4 separate regions of the Homo sapiens genome follow, and regions 2, 3 and 4 are each linked to region 1. Evidence: promoter capture Hi-C in human tissues and cell types (Jung and others, 2019). All regions are on one chromosome and are shown on one strand. The core of a region is centred on a gene start or on the middle of the fragment in contact, and the rest is flanking DNA. Distances in the headings are between cores, read along the strand shown.

Evidence for each region. The method cuts DNA at HindIII sites, captures the fragments that hold promoters and counts their contacts. A contact is called where the count stands out against the background at its distance.
Region 2: a fragment that was not itself captured here is called in contact with the fragment with the promoter of IL22RA1 in region 1 in 1 of the 25 tissues and cell types used here (mesenchymal stem cells).
Region 3: a fragment that was not itself captured here is called in contact with the fragment with the promoter of IL22RA1 in region 1 in 1 of the 25 tissues and cell types used here (IMR-90 fibroblasts).
Region 4: a fragment that was not itself captured here is called in contact with the fragment with the promoter of IL22RA1 in region 1 in 2 of the 25 tissues and cell types used here (adrenal gland and bladder).

The regions. Positions count from the first base shown.
Region 1 is chr1:24,140,995-24,145,213 of GRCh38, forward strand. IL22RA1 (interleukin 22 receptor subunit alpha 1) reads right to left here and starts at 2,146. Exons shown (of 7, transcript NM_021258.4): 1 at 2,046-2,146. The coding sequence starts at 2,088. The HindIII fragment of the contact is 7,521 bases long and covers 1-4,219 here.
Region 2 is chr1:23,896,954-23,901,172 of GRCh38, forward strand. The region is part of intron 1 of CNR2 (cannabinoid receptor 2); the gene reads right to left. It also overlaps the pseudogene BTBD6P1. Among named protein-coding and RNA genes, the nearest start is that of CNR2, 14 kb to the right of the region's middle. RefSeq lists enhancers at 145-204, 255-384. The HindIII fragment of the contact is 4,502 bases long and covers 1-4,219 here.
Region 3 is chr1:23,949,402-23,953,620 of GRCh38, forward strand. LOC124903877 (a long non-coding RNA gene) reads right to left here. Exons shown (of 4, transcript XR_007065541.1): 3 at 3,669-3,675. Among named protein-coding and RNA genes, the nearest start is that of PNRC2, 8.3 kb to the right of the region's middle. RefSeq lists a silencer at 41-261. The HindIII fragment of the contact is 5,689 bases long and covers 1-4,219 here.
Region 4 is chr1:24,280,075-24,284,293 of GRCh38, forward strand. No RefSeq gene overlaps it. Among named protein-coding and RNA genes, the nearest start is that of GRHL3, 37 kb to the right of the region's middle. The HindIII fragment of the contact is 7,226 bases long and covers 1-4,219 here.

The DNA of each region.
Region 1 (4,219 bases), core at 896-3,395:
CGAGGACCGATGGGGACGGAAGAATGGTCCGACCCCGCTGCACATCCTCTGGCCAACCTCGAAGGCTGCCCTCCTCTCTGAATTTGGGTTCTGGCCCAGCAGCTGCAAAATGTCTTCAGGCTTCCTGGAGTCCCCAGAATGGGGCCTTAGGGATGGCGCGGGGAGGGGTCTACTGCCTCTACGCAAGGTGACGGCTGTGCCGTGGAGCCTTAGGATGTAGCTGACATCTTGTTTGGATGTGAGGCTGGGTGGAATTGGGGTCAGTTCTGGAGGGAGGGGTCCTGGATTCAGGGCTGAGTCTAAAGTTGAGGAAAGGAGTCCAGTCAAGGTCAGACCTGAACAGTGGCTTCTGGTTGGGTGGTGGGTCAGGGCAGAAGGGTGAGGGTGGGCTTTGAGAAGCCAGGCTCCATCAAGGCTTGGGGTAGAGTCTGCAGCGGGAACGGTTGCTGGTTGAGGTCAGTGTTCTGGGTGGGAAATAGAGGGCCCATCTGGGTTGCAAGGAGGCTGGTGGCTGAGGTGGGGGCATGTTGCCAAGGCAAAGGACCCTGGGCTACGTGGAGGTTGGCACCACTTTTCAGGAGGGAACTGCAGTTAGCTTCCTGAAGTGGGGTAAGTGAACCTAGGCCCACTCCTGTCTTTTAGGGATGTCAGGGTCTAACAAGATCTCCCCCTCTTCTCCCACCCTCCTCGCTCCTTTTCCTCCTCAAATCTATCATCCATTCCTCAGCCTGTGTTGCTTCGGCACTTCCCGGGTGAAAGTCTATATTGTGAAATCTGGGGAGACATGTGTTGTGTGGAGCCTGGCAGCCTGGCGGATTTATAAAAGGCAACTTGTTTTTTCACATTCATGTGGAAAAACAATGTTCTGTCAACCAGCTGGGAAGCTAAGGAAAAATACACAAACAAGAAACAATTCCACATGCTCTGGAGTCAGCCTAAGATTGGGGGGGTGAGGGCCCGGTGTGTGCAGCGCGAGGCAGCTGACCCTTGACAATCTCCTAAGGGCTATTTCTTGGGGTCCCCCATCTCAAAGGGCTGGGAGCCTCTAGGATTTCTAACCAGTATGGCTGAGGGTCTAAAGGGACGTGTCTTGGTGCCTCAAGGGGGTGCCTCACATCTTCCTGGAACGCCCAGCTTGATGCTGGGAAGCAGACTGGAGGGGGTCCCACAGAGCTGGAAGCCCTGGAGACGCAGGCAGCCCTGGCGGGACAGTGGCAGAGAAGGTGGGAAGCTCTGCCTTTTCGTGGGCCTCGTCCTGCACTTGAGCAAGGAGGGCCTGGCCGAGGCCATACCTGCTCGCCATCCTCAATCAGGACTATGCTTTGACTTCCTAAGGAAGTTCCCTGAATTTCATGCAATGCACCAGGAGAGCAGAGAGAGAGTCTAGGGTCTCATGTAACGTTCTCCATAATGATGAGCCCCCCACTCCGCTCACTTTATTGGCTTTGAACACTATGCCCTTAAGACCTGTTTCCAAATGAGTCCTGTGTCTTAAGACCTATTAATGTAGCAGACCTGGCCACTCTAGGAGAAAATGCTCTTTCAGATCTATGATAACAAAAGGGGCCAAAGAGGCCCTGCAGGGGCATGGAGGGAGGCAATAGTGAACTCAAGCTTCGTTTCCCCCGGTCCTTCCTCCTCCTCCCCTGTCAGGCCAGTGCCAAGTGAGAGGCAGAGGAAGGATGGTACAAACTGTGCCGACACCGTTTGAGGGACCGAAGGATGTCTGCCTCCTCCAGGCCAATTCTCCATTCACTGAGGTGCAGCGATCCAGCACCCCCAGTTCAGACAGCTGGCTATATCCCTCAAGACCCGAGGGTCCTTTGGGTCCCTGGAAGAACCCAGGGTCTGAGGCACCCTCTCATGCCCCCAGCAAACTAAGCTGGGCATTTGCTTCTCCGTGAACACCCGGCACCCTGCTCAGCCCTAGCAGGGGAGAAACTGAAACTGGCTATGCTCGGGCTGGGGAGGGTGCTGGGGAGATGACCCTGATCGTTGGCCCCTGGGATAAGGGAGGTCTGACCACAGGGTAGATGGGCACTCACCAGCCAGGGATCCCACAGTCAAGATGGTCAGCAGCGTCCTCATCGGGGCTGGCACAGAGCCCTCCCTTGGCCTCTACTCTGCCGTGCACAGAGAGAGGGCTGGGAGTCTTGGCGCCCTGGCAGCTGGCTCCACCCGGGCATGGGGCGGGGAGAAGGGGGTGGGTGGGACCTGTGCCGGTGGGGAGCAGGGGTACAAAGGTGTCCTGGCCCTGTGTGCTCTGGAATTCCAGGTTCTGGGCGGGATCTAAGGGAGTTCCCTTCCGACTTGCAGAAAACAGCAATAGTAACAGGCTGGCTTGTTTATCTGGTCCGGTGGCTGATTCATCCCAAGTGGTTTATCAAGGAGCTGAGGGGCAGAAAAGGCAAGAATAATCCACGATATGCAGCCTTATCAAAAAGCAATTTGGCACTGTGGATCAAAAGCCTACACCACATACATATCTTTTGCTTTAATAATTCTATTCCTAGGGGATTTACCCTGATGAAAATAACTGGACAACAGAGGGGGAAAAAAAAGGTCCCAGAATGTTTCTTGCAGCAAAGGAAAAGCTGTGACTCCTTTGCTTTTCTGGCAGGAGGAGATTGAGGGCACCCGATGCTCCTCCTTGATCCTCCATATCAAGGCAGGTCCCCACGCTTGGGGTGGGCTTGGGAACAGCTCTCCCCTAGAGAGGCCGTTGGGGGTGAGGAAGCCCAGCCGCTCTTACCTTGAGCCTTTGGGTCTAGGATCTGCAAAAGTTTAGAAAAAAAATGGAACTCAAACTTCAGTGATTCTTTCTGCTGTGCTAGAGATGGGGCTGAACTTCATGAATGGGGCTTTGGTTCGGGACGATGAAGATTCAGGCTGCTCTCCCATCATTTTGCCACGTAGGGCAGGATCTGCACATGAGCTTCGTGTGAATGAAGGGACAGGTGTTTAGGAAATGGTTTTCTCCTTCCTGCAGGGCCTGGAGAAGGTAGAAGGGCCCTGGGGCCTGGACTCTGGTCAGGGTGGACACGATTGGAGGGTCCTGCCCCTGGGGAGAGTTTGCCTGGCCCCAAGCACACAAAGGCAAGCGAAATTTTAGCAGGGATCCTGCCAACGGGTTGGGTGTAATGGGCTGTGATATGCTGAGATCGGTGTTTAAGTTTTTCTTTCCTGAATTGTAATTGTTATCAGCCCTGATTGCTAAAGTTTGTTTGACAAAACAGCCAAATCTAAGCTGTGCTTTGGAGGAATTAAGGTAGGGCCCATGCCAGTCATTTCCTGAAACTGCAGGAAACTACATTTTCTAGACTCCTTTATCAACTGCTTTCTGATAGGTTTAGCCCCTGGGGGAAGACTGGGGAGGCAGAGATCAGAGCATTTCTCCCCTCGTTTTCTGTTTGAGTGGCTTCCCCAGCAATGGCCATATCCCTCTGCAGTTCTGGCTCCCTCTGGACAGTCCATCAGCCAGGCAACCCCTTATGTCTTTCTTGTTCCTGTTTGGAGGCCAGCTCCTGGCTCTGGCAACACCTTCTCCCCTCATCTTTCCTTTCAGTTGGTGGGATGGCACAGCTTCCTGCTTTGGGGAAATCTCTGAACTGTCTGTCCTGATTAGTGTCCCAGCTCCTTCATCCTCTGGGTGACGAGCTCCTTTACATTAAAGTCCCTTGGTCTGAAAGACTGGAGAGGTTTCTGTGCTACTGAATGAACCATGATGGATAGAGGGTTTTTGATGACTTTGATGACAAGGCAGTGTGGGGAAGCTACAGCGAGAAAAACAGGTTACAAGGGACGCTTAGGGAGAAGAGCAGGCTTTGGTCCCAAGTGGCTGGCCGAGAGGACAAGACGCAGCCCCAACAGGTCTGTGGAACACGAAAGTGTTCCTTGGGGCCTCTCAGAAGCACTGGAAGAAGGAACTTGATGGAGGAAAAGGGCATCCTGTAGTTTCGAGGGCCTGTGGTTATGTAGGAATTAACGGGAAGGAAGACACCTGGATTGCTAAGGAATGTGGGAACACCCAGACTTCATTTCTAACAGTTTAAGAAAAAAATAGGTGGGGCGTGGTGGCTCATGCCTGTAATCTCGCACTTTGGGAGGCCAAGGTGGGCAGATCACCTGAGATCAGGAGTTCGAGACCAGCCTGGGCAGCATGGCGAAACCCTGTCTCTACTAAAAATACAAAAATTAGCCGGACATGGTGGCGGGCACC
Region 2 (4,219 bases), core at 786-3,285, 240 kb before region 1:
CAGCTCACTGCAGCTGCCTCCTTCCAGCTTCAAGCAATTTTCCTGCCTCAGCCTCCCAAATAGCTGGGATGACAGGTGCCTGCCACCATTTTTCTATTTTTAGTAGAGATGGGGTTTCACTATTTTGGCCAGGCTGGTTTTGAACTCCTGACCTCAGGTGATCCACCCGCCTCAGCCTCCCAAAGTGCTGGAATTACAGGTGTGAGCCACTGCACCCTGCCAGGAGTGGTTTTTTGATGAGATCTCAAAAGGTCCTTCAAACATGGCAGTTATGCAATTAATCACATGGGGCAGAAAACAGGGGTGTTGTCAGATTGCAAAAGAGCTGGCGAGAGAAAGGCAGATCACGAAAGCCTGGGGCAGAAGTTCTCAAACTTCGTGGTCTCAGCGACCCTTTACCGTCTTAAAAGTTACCTTGGCAATAAATAGCTTTTGTTGATGTAGGTTACACCTATTAGTACTTGCTGTATTAGAGACTAAAACTGAGAACTTAAAAAAAATTAATAATCCTATTGCATGTTAATAGAATTTTTTTTTTTGAGACCGAGTCTCAGTCTGTCACCCAAGCTGGAGTGCAGTGGTGCGATCTCGGTTCAATGCAAACTCTGCCTCCCGGTTTCAAGCAATTCTTCCACCTCAGCCTCCTGAGTAGCTGGGACCACCACACCTGGCTAATTTTTGTGTTTTTAGTAGAGACAGGGTTTCACTATGTTGGCCAGGCTGGTCTTGAACTCCTGACCTTGTGATCCACCCGCCTTAGCCTCCCAAAGTGCTGGGATTACAGGCATGAGCCACCACGCCCGCCCTGAAGTAACATATTTTTAAATGAAAATAACTTTTTGTGGCAAATCTCTTTAATTGTCTGGTTTATGAGAAGGCAGCTGGATTCTTATCTCTGCTTCAGCATGCAAACTGTTGCAATATGTTGTTGTGGTTTAACTATGTGAAGAAAATAAATTTGCCACTCTCTCCTGAGTGCTTCCTTTGTGGCAGGCACTGTGAAAGGCCTTTTACAAGCACTGTGTCCTTTTCTGTTGTTGTTCAAATCCATACTATATATTTATTTTTATTTTTATTTTTTGTTTGTTTTTGAGATGGAGTCTCACTCTGTCACCCAGGCTGGAGTGCAGTGGTGCGATCTTGGCTCACTGCAAGCTCCGCCTCCTGGGTTCACGCCATTCTCCTGCCTCAGCCTCCCAAGTAGCTGGGACTACAGGCACCCGCCACCATGCCTAGCTATTTTTTTATTATTTTTTTGTATTTTTAGTAGACACAGGGTTTCACCATGTTAGCCAGGATGGTCTTGATCTCCTGACCTTGTGATCCGCCCGCCTCAGCCTCCCAAAGTGCTGGGATTACAGGCGTGAGCCACCGCGCCCGGCTTTTTTTTTTTTTTTTTTTTTTTTGAGATGGAGTCTTGTTCTGTTGCCCAGGCTGGAGTGCAGTGGTATGATCTCAGCTCACTGCAAGCTCCGCCTTCCAGGTTCACACCATTCTCCTGCCTCAGCCTCCCAAGCAGCTGGGACTACAGGCGCCCACCACCACGCCCGGCTAATTTTTTGCATTTTTAGTAGAGACGGGGTTTCACCGAGTTAACCAGGATGGTCTCGATCCCCTGACCTTGTGATCCGCCTGCCTCAGCCTCCCAAAGTGCTGGGATTCAGGCTTGAGCCACCACGCCTGGCCAATTTTTTTTTTTTTTTTTTTTTTTTTTTTTGAGACAAAGTCTCACTCTGCTGCCCAGGCTGGAGTGCAGTGGCACGATCTTGGCTCACTGCAAGCTCCGCCTCCCAGGTTCAAGTGATTTTCCTGCCTCAGCCTCCTGAGTAGCTGGGATTACAGATGTGCACCACCATGCCCAGCTAATTTTTGTATTTTTAGTAGAGACGGGGTTTCACCATGTTGGCCAGGCTGGTCTCCAACTCCTGACCTCAGGTGATCCAACCACCTCCACCTACCAAAGTGCTGGGATAACAGGCGTGAGCCACCACACCTGGCCCGTACTATATATTATTTTTAAATGTTTTCATTCTATTTTTGATGGACAAATAATAATTGTATATATTTATGGAATACAATGTGATATTATGATACACGTATCAAAATTGCTAAAAGAGTAGATTTTAAATGTTACCACAAAGAAATGCGCTGTCTCCTTTATCCTCCAAACTGCCCTTGGAGATAGACTGTCTCATTTTCACGATCTTATCTATGAGGAACCAGAGGCTCAGCTAGACTGGATTTGCCGAGGTCACAAAGTTTGTAAATGGCAGAGTCAGAATTCAGACTCATATATCTGGTGCCAGACCCTGACCACAGAAGTTGGGCAGCCTAGATGTGAAACCACCTTTGCAAAATTATGACTGAGACTGTGAAAGAGATCTAACTTAACTGACTCCATCTTGCTTCTAACCTCCAAGGTGTCCTTGTTCATTCCTGGGCTGAACTAACTTTGGGAGAAACTTAGTTTAAAACTAAGACAATAACAGCCCTTTCCCAAAGTACACCTCCTTCTTGGCTGGGGACTAGATTGCCTTTGTAGGACTAATATTAGGCACAAGATTAGAAATTATGGTTTAGGGTCTGGTGTGGTAGTTCACGCCTGTAATCCCAGCACTTTGGGAGGCTGAGGCGGGTGGATCACTTGCGGTCAGGAGGTAAGACCAGCCTGGCCAACATGCTGAAACTCCGCCTCCACTAAAAATACAAAAGTTAGCCAGGTGTGGTGGTGCATGCTGTAATACCAGCTACTCGAGAGGGGGAGGCAGAAGAATCACTTGAACCTGGAAGGTGGAGGGTGCAGTGAGCTGAGATTGCGTCACTGCACTCCAGCCTGGGCGACAGAGGGGTCTCTGTCAGAAAGAAAGAAAGAAAAGAAAAAAAAGAAAGAAAAGAAAGAAAGAGGGAAGGAAGGAAAGAGAGAGAGAGAAAGAAAGAAAGAGAAAGAAAGAAAGAGAAAGAAAGAAAGAGAAAGAAAGAGAAAGAAAGGAAAGAGAAAGAAAGGAAAGAAAGAAAGAAAGGAAAGAAAGAAAGAAAAGAAAGAAAGAAAGGAAGGAAGGTTTAGGAGTCATGCAGCTGGAGGCTACAAGATTCTGACCCTCCCTAAACTGCTCCTGCGATCAGTGCTTGAGATACTTTGCAGACCCTGCACTTGATGGATCAGCTGGCACCACCCAAATCCATAAACTGGCTCATGTGATCTTGTGGCCCCCACCCAGGAACTGACTCAGCGCAAGAGGACAGCTTCGACCCCCTGTGATTTCATCCCTGGCCAATCAGCACTCCTGGCTCACTGGCTCCCCGCAACCAAACAAACTGTCCTTAAAAACTCTGATCCTTGAATGCTGGTGGAGACTGATTTGAGTAATAATAAAATTCCGGTCTCCCGCACAGCCAGCTCTGCATAAATTACTCTTTCTCTATTGCAATTCTCCTGTCTTGATGAATCGGCTCTGTCTAGGCGGCAGGCAAGGTGAACCCCTAGAGGCTTATAGACGGAGGGGCATGGGGTCTCTCTTATACTTCTGGGCAACCATCTCTTCCCTGATCTCTTTTTTTTTTTTTTTTTTTTTGAGACAGTTTCACTCTTGTTGCCCAGGCTAGGGTGCAATGGTGCAATCTCGGCTCACTGAAACCTCCGCCTCCCAGGTTCAAGCAATTCTCTTGCCTCAGCCTCCCAAGTAGCTGGGATTACAGGCATGTGCCACCACGCCTGGCCAAGTTTGTATTTTTAGTAGAAATGGGGTTTCTCCATGTTGATCAGGCTGGTCTTGAACTCCCAACCTCAGGTGAACCGCCCGCCTTGGCCTCCCAAAGTGCTGAGATTACAGGCATGTGCCACCGTGCCTGGCCTCCCTAATCTCATTTTTATCCTTCCCACCTTGGACCATTTTACCGAGCCACGTTTCCAGCTACCAACCAAATTGTCCTTAAAATCTCTGATCCTCGAATGCTGGGGGAGACTGATTTGAGTAATAGGACACTAGAATGGTCGCTCCAAGGGAGTTAAGGCTTATTATTTGTTTTGTTCACTCCCGTATCTTAAGTGCACCTGCCTCACCCATGGTCACTGCTCAGTAACTCTTTCTTTTTTTAATTGTAGGCAACCTTTATTACAGAAGTCCCTTATTTTAAGTGACTTTTTGCCGATTTTAGATTTGAAGGGAAGGTCTACAGTTAAGCTTGGAACCACTTAGTATCCAAGAGGGTGGCAGGAACA
Region 3 (4,219 bases), core at 990-3,489, 190 kb before region 1:
TGGTACAGAGACCTCCTTACTTACCCCCCTTCTCCTTCGGCTGGAGCTCGGTGAGTGAGAGGTGGCGCTGGCCTTGGAGAGTGACAGTGGAGCGGCGGCGGCTGTGAACACAATTAAAAAAAATTTTTGTTTTTAATTTATTTAATTTTTTTAGATAGTCTCACTCTGTCACCCAGGATGGAGTGCAGTGGTGCAATCTCGGCTCACTGCAACCTCCACCTCCTGGGTCCAAGCAGTTCTCCTGCCTCAGCCTCCCGAGTAGCTGGGATTACAGGTGCACGCCACCAGGCCTGGCTAATTTTTGTATTTTTAGTAGAGACCGGGTTTCACCATGTTGGCCAAGCTGGTCTTGAACTCCTGATCTCAAGTGATCCACCTACCTCGGCCTCCCAAAGTTCTGGGATTACAGGCATGAGCTACCACGCCTGCCCTGTTTTTTGTTTTTGTTTTTTTTAAAAAGCAGGGTCTCACTCTGTTGCTCAGGCTGGAGAGCAGTGGCACAATCTTAGCTCACTGAAACCTTTGCCTCCTGGTTTCAAGTGATTTTTTTTTCCTGCCTCAGCCTCCAGAGTGGCTGGAATTACAGGTGCGCACCACCACGCCCGGCTAATTTTTGTATTTTTAGTAGAGACGGGGTTTCACCATGTTGGCCAGGGTGGTCTCGAACTCCTGACCTCAAGTCATCCACCTGCCTTGGCCTCCTAGATTTCTGGGATTACAGGTGTGAGCCACCATGTCTGGCCTTAACTATAGTTAAGGGTTGTAATCAGGGAGGAAGAAGGGCAGAAGACGGTAAGAAAGTTCCTACTTGACTAGAACTCTTGTGACATTTCCCTGGCCTGACAGATAGCTAAAGCTGCCTCTTTCTCTCATGGCACTTGTTCTTCAGCAAATTCTCTTCATGAGCTCTCTCGGCTGCAATTCCTTCACAGTGGGCAATGCTTCTCCTTAGGCTGATTGCTCCCTCAGCTTCTGCCTCTTAGTACAATATCTTGCTGTAAGACTGCCATTGCAGGGGCCACACTTGTGGGCTTTGAAAATAACTCTAGCCAGGCAGGTGGCTCACACCTGAAATCCCAGCACTTTGGGAGGCTGAGGCAGGCAGATCACTTGAGCCCAGGAGGCAGAGGTTGCAGTGAGCCGAGATCGCACCATTGCACTCCAGCCTGGGTAATAGGAGTGAAACCCTGTCTCACAAACAAACAAACAAACAATCAATCAAAGAAACAAAACACATGAGGATCTATAAATACTCTAGTTTTTTTTTCTTATTTTTTTCTAATCGGCAATGAGAATATACGTGCAATTTTACTGGCCAATGATAGCATGGAACCAGAAGGGTGGCTACCTCCCATTTAGAGCATACTGTATTCCGAGCGCTTCCTAGCAATATGGACCCTGAAGACTAGATCGGTGTAGCAGAGTGGCTAAGAGCAGGTTTTGGCATCAGGCTGACCCAGGTTCAAGTTCGAGGTATGTGACTTTGGGCAAATGACTTAGCCTACCTCTTTGAATCTCAGTTTACTCATCCATTTAATGAGGCAGTACTACTAGTGACCTCAGTAGGTTGTGATGAGAATTAAATAAGAATGCGTATCAATTGTTTAGGACAGGCCGATTCAATGGCTCATGCCTGTAATCCCAGCACTTTGAGGGGCTGAGGCAGGTGGATCACTAGAGCCTAGGAGTTCAAGACCAGCCTGGGCAACATGACGAAACCCTGTCTCTACAGAAAATACAAAAATTAGCCGGGCACGGTGGCATACACCTGTTGTCCCAGCTACTCGGGAGGCTGAGGCAGGAGGATTGCTTGAGCCCAGGAGGTTAATGCTGCAGTGAGCCGTGATCTCACCACTGCACTCCAACCTGGGTGACAGAGTGAGATCCTATTTAAAAAAAAAAAATTTTTTTTTTAAATTGCTTAGGACAGTGTACCTTGCTCATAGTAGAGTGCTCGATACTTATTGTTATTATTTAATGTGCAACACATTTGTAATATGCAAAGTATCATACCTTTGAATTGCATAAGTAACAGTTAAAACAAAACAAAATAAAGATATAACAGTCAAAGGCAAGGAGATGGTATAAATATTCAATCACGGTGAACTGGAATCAAGAGATCAGACTGAACTTGAGCAAGTTACTTCACCTCCTTTTGCCTTGGAAACTGTGGGCGAATGGCGACTCCTTTGTTGCCTGCTCTACCCAAGAGTGGAAGTCATGCCACGGTGTCACCTAGCAGTTTAATCATGTGTTAAGACTATGTCAATCTGTTCTTTTTTTTTTCTGCTGTGGCAAAATCCAGGCTCTCGGGCCATGGAAGCTTGACTCATAGTCTCTTTCCAAACCCAAGCCATCAGCCAGAGAACAAACACTGGCTTGCCTGACTCAGTGGAAATTCCAGACGTTTGTAGCTCATTAACTGCCAAATTGACAGCTATGGAGGCTGTGACGAATAAGTGGACCTCATTAGCTCCATGTTCCCCAGAAAAAGCTGTCCCACAGGCATACTTTGTACAAAGGCCATACGTAACACGTGATCTTTAAAAAAACCTTTTAAAATTCTTTTGACTATTTCCTGTCAAAAGAAATTCACCGCCAGGCGAGGTGGCTCATGCCTATAATCCCAACACTTTAGGAGGCCGAGGTGGGTGGGTCACCTGAGGTCAGGAGATCAAGACCAGCCCGACTAACATGGTGAAATCCTGTCTCTACTAAATACAAAAAATATGCTGGGCGTCATGGCACATGCCTGTAATCCCAGCTACTTGGGAGGCTGAGGCAGGAGAATCGCTTGAACCCAGGAGGTAGAGGTTGCAGTGAGCCGAGATTGTGCCATTGCACTCCAGCCTGGGCAACAAGAGTGAAACTCCGTCTCAAAAAAACAAAGAAATTCACCAACGTAAATTCACCAACTCCTCTTACAGATCCAATGTCAGGAAAGCAGCTATAAACAATAAGGACAGCGAACAGTATCCTCAAAGCCAGAAGCCTGGGACTGACTTTTAGCCTGATGGTGGGGGCATACACGGATACATAATTTCTGGAAAGTATTTGGTAATATGTATCAAAAGTCTTACCTGTATATTTACCTTGTGACCTAGTACTTTCACCCCTAAGAATTTATTTAAAGGAAATTTATTTACAGAAATGAAGATTTATTTATAGGGACATCCAACTCAGCATATAATAGCAAAAAATTGGAAATAACAGTGGAGAATAGTAAATTAATCAAAGATGGTCATAACATAAAATATGGCTAACAATGAATGTATATATACATGGAAACATGCTCACAATATCCTGAGTTTAAAAAGTGAAAAAAGGGGCGGGCGTGGTGGCTCACACCTGTAATCCCAGCACTTTGGGAGGCCAAGGTGGGTGGATCACATGAGGCCCAGGCGTTCAAGACCAGCCTGGCCAATATGGAGAAACGTCGTCTCTACTAAAAATACAAAAATTAGCTGGGCGTGGTGGCACATGCCTGTAATCCTAGCTACTCAGGAGGCTGAGGCAGGACAATCACTTGAACCTGAGAAGTGGAGGTTGCAGTGAGTTGAGATCATGCCACTGTACTCCAGTCTGGGCAACAGAGCTAGACTCTGCCTCAAAAAAAAAAAAAAAAAAAAAAAAAAAGTGAAAAAAGGTAACAATAGAATATATACCACTTTTCATCTTTGTAAAAAGGAAAAAAAAAGCTCAGTAACTAAGGGCTTTCTATGTGGCAGGCACTGTTCTAAGTACTGCAGAGATGTTGACTTACTTAATCATTACACAAATGTTAGGTATTGTTATTATCCCCAGTTCACAGATGGGGAAACTACAGCACGGAGAAGTTAAACAACCTGCCAAAGTCAGTCATATGCTAGAAAGCCACAGAGCTAAGGTGTGATGCTGAGCAGGTTTTGGTGTCTATGCCCCCACCACGACTCACACTGTCTCCTGGTATAGAAAAAAGACTGGAAGGACATACTTTCCAAGCGTTCACAATGCTTACTTCTGGGAAGTGAGATGTTGAGTGAATTCTACTTATTTTTTATCTGCCTTTTCTATAGTTAATGTGTTATTAATGAGACAAAACTCCAAAGAAAATGTTTAAAATACAAGACCTTTGTTGCAGAGGTGAACGAGTCTCTCTCAACCTCAGTTTCTTTATCTTTAGAGCAGCAACTGTGCCTACCTTATAAAGCTCATGGTAGGATTGAATGAAATAAAGCGA
Region 4 (4,219 bases), core at 450-2,949, 140 kb after region 1:
GATTGAAGCAGGAGTTGGTAACATGACAAGTCTTTTAAAACCCAGTTTTATTAAGTACAATACACATATGTACAGAAAAGTGTAATATACATTATAGAAAAGTGCACCAATCATGAATTTTCACAATCTGAACACCGCCATCCATACCTAGGTGCAAAAGCAGAACTTTCCCAGTAACACACACCCCCTCACTCCCCTGTCCTGACCATTATCCTGACTTCTAATCTCATCAGTTCATTTTGTCCTTTAGCTAAATGAAATCACACATCGTGTGTCCTTTTGTGCCTGGCTTCTTTCATAATTATGTTTGTGTACAGGAAGCCTGTTTTTCAATGTTTTATTATGAAAGTTTTCAAACATCACAGCAAAAGTTGAAAGCATTTTATAGTGAATATCCTTAAACTCACCATTTAAATTCTATGAATGTTGTACTGTACTTGCTTTTCTTTCACATAAAGCCATCCCTCTAGACATTCATTAATGCTTCGACTTCATTATAAATTTTAAAGTAAATTGCAGACATCAATACAATTTCCTTAACTACTTCAGCATGCACATATATTTGCTCACAACTTTTATCCTTTTGATGTAAAATTTATATATGATGAAATGCACAAGTGCTTTTTATTGAGTTTTCATAAATGCATACACCTGTGATCCCAAACCCTCTCAAAATAAAGAATATTCCCCTCACTCCAGGAAGTTCCCTCATGCCCCTTCCCAGTCAATACTCTCCCCTCCAGCACACTAGGCAACCCACTGTACCAATATTTTTCCACAGTAGATTGGTTTTGCCTGTCCTGAAAATTCATATAAATGGAATGATACCTTATATAATCTCTCATGTAAGGCTTTTTTCATTCAATGTAGTGTTTTGAGATTCATCCATGTTGTTCCTGCATATCATTAATTCATTCCTTTTTATTAATGGGGAGTATTCTTTTGTAGGCCTATACTGCGGTTCGTTTGTCCATTTTCCTATTGATGGACACCCGGGCTGTTGACAATTTGGGGCTATTATGAGAAAGGTGCTATGTGCACTCTTCTACAAGGCTTTTTGTGAATTTGTGTTTTCATTTCTTTTGAGTAAATACTTAGGAGTACAACGACTGGGTCACAGGGTAGGTGTATGTTTTATTTTACAAAAAAATGACAGATCTTTTTCCAAGGTGGTGGTACCATTTTATTGCACCACCAACAATGTATCACTTTGTCACCAACAATGAATGAGAGTTCCAGTTGCTCCACAGCCTCATCAACATTTGGTCTAATTTTATTTTATTTTATTTTATTTTTGAGACAGAGTCTTGCTCTGTCACCCAGGCTGGAGTGCAGTGGCACGATTTCAGCTCACTGCAACCTCCACCTCCCAAGCTCAAGTGATCCTCCCACCTCAGCCTCCCAAGTAGCTGGGTCTACAGGCATGTGTGGCCATGCTGGGCTAAATTTTTGTATTTTTTGCAGAGACGGGGTTTCACTATATTGCCCAGGCTGGTCTCGAACTTCTGAGCTCAAATGATCCACCCCACTTCAGCCTCCCAAAGTGCTGGGACTACAGGCATGAGCTACCACACCTGGCTGGTATTGTCCATCTTTTTAATGTTTCTGGTAGGTATGTAGTAGCAGCTCACTGTGGTTTTAATTCACATTTTTATGAAAAAGCACCTCTTTCTCCAGATGGATACAGTTCCTTGCCAAGACTCACCGCTTAGCAAGCAGAGCACAGCCTGCCCAACGATCCATGGTGGCTGTGCTTCAGGTCTCCATTGTGCCTACTGGGCAAGATGAACAGGAGCCAGCCCTTGAAGTACTATCTTTATTTTAAAGAAAAATAGCATCTATAGTGGTTGAGAGTGGCCTCTGCAGTTAGATTGTCTGGGTTCAGACCCCAGCCTCACCACATACCAGCTGTGTGACAATGGACAAATTACTTCCCATTTCTAAGTCTTCATTCCCTCACATCTACTCATAAGTTTGTGGTGAAGATTAAATAAGATGGAACATGTAACATACCTAGCACAGAAAACACTAGTAAACATTAGTTGTTTTGTTATTGTTCTATCTGAGTAGAAAAGTTACATACAATTATCATAGAAAATGAAGAAAAGTAGAAAGAAGCTTAAAGTTACCATAACCCTGACATCCAAAGATAACTGTTATTAATATTTGGTGCATTTTTCTAGTATTTCTATATAGGATTAAAAATTTTTTTTTAATTTTTTTTTTCCACAGTCTCACTCTGTCACCTGGGCAGGAGTGCAGTGGCATGATTTTGGCTCACTGCAGCCTCAACCCCTTAGGTTCAAGCAATCCTCCTGCCTCAGACTACTGAGTAGCTGGGACCATAGGCACACACCACCATGCCCGGCTAATTTTTTCATTTTTTTGTGGAGATGGGGGGGGTCTCACTTTGTTGCCCAGGCTGGTCTGAAACTCCTGGGCTCAAGCTATTCCCCCACCTTGGCCTCCCAAAGTGTTGGGATTACAGTCGTGAACCACTGTACCCAGCCTGGAATTGTTTAAAAACACCAATGGCATCATACTCTGTATACAATTTCATACCCTCCTTTCTATATTTAACTCTATGTCATTAACATTTTCTCATGTCATTGCATGTTCTTCAAAACTCCACTCCTAAAGGCTGTGGAATGTTCCAGCAACAGGTGCTGCACTGTGTCAGGTGATAAAGCAGTGGGTTGAAGATCAGTGATTCCAGAAACAGTCTTGTATCCTCTTGACTACATGTGATTATTCCCTTAGGATATTTTTAAAGCCTTTGATAAACATTATCAATTTGGAGCACCAGATCAAAACCACATCTTTTCACTTTTTCCTAAATATAAAATTAATGCAGGTTATGAAAAGAAGAAATAATACATGATTGTGAAGAATAGAAAGTGAAAGCCCCCCTCCCTCCCCAATAATCTCACTAGTAAAGAAAAATCACTTTGATGTACATGCTTCCAGACCTTCTATTCCATACATATGCAACAGTAGATATAAGTATACTAACCCAAGAGTAGAAGGGGATGCTGGAGTCTGCCTGTGCCTGGTTCAAGTTCTGACTCTGCTGTGTATTCACTGTGTGACCTGGGGCGAGTTAATTCACCTCACTGTGCCCTGTTTTTAAAAATCGCTTCATTTGTTTCTGGAGTTATTTTTCAAATATCTCCAGGTTCCTCAACATTCTCAACCCTGAATGGATACTGGAGAGTCTGCTGGAGTCTGTACCTGAAACTGGGCCAGGGATGCCTTAGCCGTTTGGACCAGACATTCCTCCCATGCTGCTGCCCTGGAGGTCCCTGGACCACAGGCGAGGTTGAGGTTCCCCAGCTTTGCAGCAAGTAAACATTGATTCACCTGGGCACCCGGGGTAATTGTACAAATTGCCCATGCAGATGGGTGCCTCATGCCTGGTTACCCAATGCTTACTCAGGTAGGTGTGGTTACCCAGAGACAGGTGGGTGCCCACGCCTCACCTACTACTTGGAGGCCCCAGTCATAGTCATCATATCAGGGAGTATGGGGGATGCCATTTGGGGCCTCCTCAAAAAAGATGCCACCTGCTCTAGCCCAGGAAGTCAAGCTATGGTTGCTCACCTTGGGACAGTAGGGACAGCTTGCTGGGCTTGTAAATAAATGTGGAGCAAATCACAGTGAATGACCCGCACCTCACTTAGGCCTTCACCAGGCATTGCCAAATGCTGCCTTCTCTTTACTCGCCCAGGAGCCCAGGCACATTGGTGTCTTCATTATTTCCGAGTGGACCTTATTCAATAACCCAGGGAAAATCAACAATGTGATTAATTAAAATCTTAAGACACACTCTGTTTTGTTATCTGTGGACTCTACTGAGCTACTTCCTCCAGGAAGAAGGAATTGGCCCACTTGTTGGGTTTATTTATTTACTTATCTACATGCATCTGGACAGTTTTGCGTTGTGATTCATTCTGGGAAAGCTATATCAGATGGGACCACATCCAAGGAGGAACCGGGTTGGGAAAGGATGCTGGAATCCCGGAATTGCCTTCCCAGTCACCTCAGAATCAGGATTATGCTCTTTTTTAATGCTTTCTCCTTCACAATGAGTTTCCCCCCCAGAAACCTCATTAACCCTGAAACTTTTTGAACATTTTCCACAGGTAAGGGAGGCTGGTCTTCTGGACTCGGCTGAGTCCTGGGTGACTCAGGCTGAGTCCTCAGGAAAACCCCAGGGGCT